Linked DNA regions of Homo sapiens: region 2 is linked to region 1. Evidence: promoter capture Hi-C in 16 types of primary human blood cells and fetal thymus (Javierre and others, 2016). All regions are on one chromosome and are shown on one strand. The core of a region is centred on a gene start or on the middle of the fragment in contact, and the rest is flanking DNA. Distances in the headings are between cores, read along the strand shown.

What was found. The method cuts DNA at HindIII sites, captures the fragments that hold promoters and counts their contacts. A CHiCAGO score of 5 or more calls a contact.
Region 2: a contact is called between a fragment that was not itself captured here and the fragment with the promoter of TMEM238 in region 1, in 11 of 17 cell types (fetal thymus, activated CD4 T cells, naive CD4 T cells and 8 more). The highest score is 9.5, in fetal thymus.

What each region holds. Positions count from the first base shown.
Region 1 is chr19:55,382,647-55,385,541 of GRCh38, forward strand. It overlaps TMEM238 (transmembrane protein 238), which reads right to left and starts at 1,646. Exons shown (of 2, transcript NM_001190764.2): 1 at 1,076-1,646. The coding sequence starts at 1,613. The coding sequence ends at 1,083. RefSeq lists silencers at 1,152-1,241, 1,532-1,871 and enhancers at 1,246-2,208, 2,162-2,231, 2,262-2,331. The HindIII fragment of the contact is 6,498 bases long and covers 1-2,895 here.
Region 2 is chr19:55,110,079-55,112,879 of GRCh38, forward strand. PPP1R12C (protein phosphatase 1 regulatory subunit 12C) reads right to left here. Exons shown (of 22, transcript NM_017607.4): 2 at 2,587-2,717; 3 at 2,389-2,507. Among named protein-coding and RNA genes, the nearest start is that of PPP1R12C, 6.2 kb to the right of the region's middle. The HindIII fragment of the contact is 402 bases long and covers 1,351-1,752 here.

The DNA.
Region 1 (2,895 bases), core at 396-2,895:
TGGGGCCAAAATATGGGGGGTCCACAGGCCAGTGAGTGCTTCAGTTTAACCAAAGGTGAAGAGGGAGCCACAGCAGGTCTTTGAGCAGAGGCAGGCTAGCTGGAAAGGTGTGTTTAGGAAAGAGATAGAAGGTAGAGGGGAAAGGGGAGTGAATGTGTGGTGGCTTCATTTCTCCTGCTGTTGGTCCTTCTTACTCCTCCTTTTCTAGGCCTACAGGTCAGGAAAATCCCAGCTCCTCCTTTCCTAGGCCTACAGGTCAGGAGAATCCCAGCTCCTCTTTTCCTAGGCCTACAGGTCAGGAGAATCCCAGCTCCTCCACCTACGTGTTGTGTGGCCTTGGGCAAATGTGGCGCCTTTCTGCGCTTCAGTTTCCTCCACTGCAGAATGGGGATGGTAATAGTAGTGACCTTGGAGACCAGTTACATGGAGAGGATTAAATGGGGCCTGGTCTGGGCTCAGTGGCTCACGCCTGTAATCCCAGCACTTTGGGAGGCTGAGGAGAGCAAATCGCATGAGCTCAGGAGGTGGGGACCAACCTGGCCCACATGGCAAAACCCCGTCTCTACTAAATATACAAAAATTAGCCCGGCAAGGTGGGGCGCACATGTATTCTCAGCTACTTGGGAGGCTCAGGTGGGAGGACTGCTTGAGCCTAGGAGGTCGAGGCTGCTGTGAGCTGAGATCACGCCACTGCACTCCAGCCTGGGTGACAGTGAGAGATCCTGTCTCAAAACAACCCCAAACGACAACAAAACAAAACAAAACAAAAAATGGGGCCTGGTGTACCTGGAAGCTGGGGCTCTCCCCGTGCGGGGGGCCTAACTGTGTGACTCGACCCCCACACTTCCCATCTCCAGGGGCAGGGTCTCACAGCCTCCCCCACGTATGCACCTGTGCTTGCTGTGTCTGCGGTTCTCCGCCAGAGCCTTCCCGTCCCTGTCTCCACCCCGCCCTGGGACTCTACCTCCCCATGGCCGCTCTCTGTCTCCATCTGTCCATCGCTCCCCCGTCTGTCTCCATTCCCGTCCCTCCCTCGGTCCCTCCGTCTCCCCGCCCTGCCCCGCCCGCCCCTCACCTGGGCCTCACTCGCTGCCCGCGCCCGCCGCCCCGGGCCCGGCCTCGAGCGTGGCGAGCTGCAGGCGCACGCGGCGGGAGCCGGCGGCGGGCGGCGGGGGCGCGCGGGCGGCTCGGCGCGCTCTCCGGGAGCCGGGCGCGGGGCGCTGGCCCGCGGCGGCGGGCGCCGACCAGCGGCGGGAGAGCTTGCGCGCCAGGCGGGCGAGCGCCGAGGGCCGCAGGCCGTAGTCGCGCTCCAGCTCCTGGCGCGAGATCTCGATGTTGCCGGTGTACCAGAGGATCCAGCCCAGCAGGCTCAGGAACACCAGCAGCGCGCCCGAGTAGATGAGCAGGTCCCCGAAGTCGCGGCCGCGCACCTGCAGCTGCGCGAACACGCCGGTCAGCAGCGCCGCCATGCCCGCCACATCCAGCGCCACGGCCAGCAGCAGCGCCATCCGGCAGCGGCCCAGGCCGGCCGCGGGTGCTGGCGCGGCCGCCGGCGCGGACGGTGCACCCGGCGGGCTCCCCTGCGAGGCGCACACCGCTGGCGCCGCCGCCATGGCCCTGCACCGCCGCCGCTGGCGCCCAGAGAGAGCGTTCCGGGGTGCGGCCCGGTCCGGGGCGGGGTCAGGGGACGGCGCCAGGTGTGCCAAGCTCCCGCCTGGTCACCTGAACCGGGCTGGGCGCGAACCGGCGCGGCCGGGGTTACCCTGGTCGTGGTTTCCGTGCAGGGGCTATTGCTCAGAGGCCTGAGCTGGTGGTAGCCAGGCGCACAGCCACGGGTGCCTAGGGCCCGTGCCACCCAGGGAGGTCACATATGGCCAAAAATCAGGGCATTTTAGTGGTGGCAGCATGGGACACTCGGAGCCGGGCGTGGCGTTGTTTCTGCTCAGTGTCCGCCTCCCGAAGCCTGTGCAGATCAGACAGTGCAGATCAGACAAGGCCTTTAGACACCAAGGAGCTCTGGGACGCGAGAACCAGTAGTCGGGGTGATCTAAGAGGGGAAGCTCCGGGTTCCGCGGAAGCTGAGTTTCCTTCACTCAGCGCGTGTCTTCTGGGGTCTCCTGTGTTCAGCGAATGAAGCCACGGGCACAAGGACGGACGAGACCCATCAGGTCCAGAGCGCACCCGTGGAGGAAGCTGGGCGAACCCCGACTGTCCTATGGAGGATAGTCCTATGGACCAGACGAAGCCCCTGCCCCAAGGAGTGCCCGGGTGTAACCGCAAGTTAAGGAGCCCTGGGGAGGTGACACAGGCACCCTCATTCCTTTTGTTCAGTAGGAGTCTCTGAGGCCTCCCCAGCACCATGCCGCGTGGGTGAGGCCGAGGACACAGAGAAATATCAGGCAAGGCTCCTGCCCCCTTAGGGTGGCCCTGACAACGGATCATAACCTCCCAGGGAGCTGATGGGGTGTGACAGGCACACCATAGGCTGGAGGCACAGGTGGAGGGCAGGGAAGAGGACCGGCAAATCTATAGAATCCTAAAGGGAGCCAAGAGAAGCCACATGCAAATCTCCCTCCCTCCAAACAATTCTCCCTTAGAGGGCATCCGCGCTCCCCTGGGGTGGCAGTCAGCGAGAAGTTTCCGTGTAGGTTCTCCCCAGGCTTAAACAGTTTAAGAGTTTTATTTCAAGAAAACCCTGGGGAGGGCGAACTGCAAGAGGGCTGCCAGGATTAGCCGAGGGATTCCGAATGAAGACGGAGTATTTCCGAACATACACACCTCTCCCAAGAGCGTTTCCGGAGGGTTCCGAAAATACCCGAGCGGGCCTCGGCGCCCTCATTGGCCATCACCGCGAGGGCTTACGAAGACCGGAAATATCCAAAGGTGCCGGGGCTA
Region 2 (2,801 bases), core at 302-2,801, 270 kb before region 1:
CTGCAGGAAAATACAACGTCAGAAAGTTCACAGACCCCCTGGAGGCCATTCCCGGCCTCCCTGGGGTCCAAGGGAAAAGGAGGACTGATCCAGACAGAGGGAGCCTAAATCACCCAGATCTGGATCCCTAGCTGGGCCCTGAACCAGAGCGGGAGAGGCTACAAAGAATGTCAAGGAGAAACGCAGGCAACAGTGTAGCATCAAGGTTGGTGCAGTGGGTGAGAGTGTAGCATCAAGGTTGGTGCGGTGGGTGAGAGTGTAGCATCAAGGTTGGTGCGGTGGGTGAGAGTGTAGCATCAAGGTTGGTGCGGTGGGTGAGAGTGTAGCATCAAGGTTGGTGCGGTGGGTGAGAGTGTAGCATCAAGGTTGGTGCGGTGGGTGAGAGTGTAGCATCAAGGTCAACACAGGGGGTAGCGTGTTGCATCCCTACTGTGGTTCTGCAGGAGGTTTTCCTTGTGGCAGGAGATACCTGCTGTGCATCAGGCGAAGATGTACAATGCCTGCAACACAGTCTCAGAATGGCCGGGCTCACGCCTGTAATCCCAACACTTTGCGAGGCCGAGGCCAGCAGATCGCCTGAGGTCAGGAGTTGGAGACCAGCCTGGTCAACATGGTGAAACCCCATCTCTATTAAAAATGCAAAATTAGCTGGGCATGCTGGCTCACGCCTGTAATCTCAGCTACCCAGAAGCTGAGGCAGGAGAATCGCTTGAACCCAGGAGGTGGAGGTTGCAGTGAGCCGAAATCATGCCATTGCACTCCAGCCTGGGCAAAAAGTGAAACTCTGTTTCAAAAAAAAAAAAAAGGCTCAGGAATGGAAAGGCAGGGGTGGGGTGGTAAGAAAGGAAGGGAGAGATGGAGGGAAAAAAACAGGAGGAGAAAGGATAGGAAAAAATGTGTTTATGTCTATACCTGGGAAGAGATCGCAAGGGAGGGACAGAGAGAAGGAACACAAATCTATCAAAAAGTTAAAAGCTGATGATTCTATACTGTATGATTCCCTTTATGTGAAGTGTACAAAACAGCAAATCCACAGACAGAAGGCAGAGAGGGCTTCGTGGGGTGGGGGGGAGGGGGGGGTGCATGGTTGGGGGTGATGGCTAAGCGGTTGCAGGGTTTCGTTGGGGGATGATGAAAATGTTCTACAACCAATGTGGTCATAAATGCCCGACCCCGTGAATAGACTAAAAAGCACTGAAGTGTGCACTTTGGGTGAATTGTAGGGTAGGTGAATTACATCTCAAAAAGCTGTCTAAAAAACAAAAACAAAAAAGAAAAAGCACTGGCGAATCTTAGTGAAAGTCATATGGGTAGTCACATGCTATTGCTTCAACTTTTCTGTAAATCTGAAGCTTTCCCAAAATAAAAAGTTGGAGGAGGAAGGAGACAGAATCCAGGTCCAGGGCTGATTTGACCCACTCCCCATTTCAACCAAAGAGGGGCTCCCGAACCTCAGATCTCCGCCGTCACGTGTCCCACTAGCTAGTCCTCCCGCATGGCTCTCGTGGACCCCTGAACCCACGCGGAATCCTATCCTTTCAGCCTGGCCAGCGGCCCCGTCAGGACAGCCGCGTCAGAAGTCTCGGAGGCTGCCGGTATCTCATTTCCTCGTCAGTCTCCCTTTCCTTCCACACGGTCCCCTGGAGTCTGCCGGGAACCATGCTCACACCCTTCCACTCCAACCCAGCCAGACCCTGACAACCACCCCATGAAGCGGCACCAGTGGTCCTGTTTTAGGAAATCAGGGAAGCAAGCTTCAGGGACGTGCCTGGAGTCACCAGTCACAGGCAGAGCTGGGAGGCAAGCCCAGGACTTTAGAAGACATGCTGGGGACCCAGGGATCCTGTGTGGCCATCACACACCTGCTAGAAGCAACACCCCTTCCCTAGAAAAATGAACCTGGCCAGACACAGTTTCAGGGGCTCCTGGACCCCATATGAAGGCTCCTGGGGTACGATGAGTCTCAGAGGACAGGGAGACCAGTCCCTGGCAACCCCTGCATGCCCCTACTCCCCCCCAAGTAAACGCATCCCCTCCCAGAAAGACCTGCGGCAGGGTTCCAGCAATCCTACCTAACGCACTCCTGGGTGAGTCCCTCCACCCACCCACCCCGCCCCGGCATTCCAATCCCCTCAGTTACTCAGGGGGATTGACAGTCCCAGTTGGTAGGGGTTTGAGTTCTCATCCTGTGCGTGTGCTGGGCTCCAAGCAATCCTGGAGGCAGGCCCCTACACCCCCATTTCACAGGTGAGGAAACTGAGGCACAAAGAAAGACAATCCTAGGAAGCAGGGTCAGCCTCGGTGCCCAGGCCGCCTCTAAAGCTCTCAGCCTGGAGACCACGGGTGAGGAGGTGTCCCCCACCCCACACACAGCACACCAGAGCCCACCTCGGCGGGCGATCTCCGCCTTCAGCAGCCCCTCCATGGCGTCCGACTCGGCCAGGTCCAGGGGCAGGTCCCCGTCACTGTTGACGGCGGCGATGTTGGCCCCGTGGCTCAGGAGGTACCTGGGGGTGGGGGCTGGTCAGGGCTGAGGGTCCAGGCCCCCACCCCGACCAGGTCCTGCCCGGCCCTCCCTTGCCTCACCTGGCGATATCTAGGTAGCCACAGGAGGCGGCCACGTGCAGTGGCGTCCAGCCCTCGTTGTCTGCCTGGTTCACAGTGGCGCCCTGCTCCACCAAGAAGCGCACCACCTCCAGGTTCTCATCAATGCAGGCCTGGGGGTGGGAAACAGCCGTCAGCCGCACCTACCCCAGCCACGGTGTCCCAGCAAGTCGGGACTCCAGAGGGAGCCACGAAAA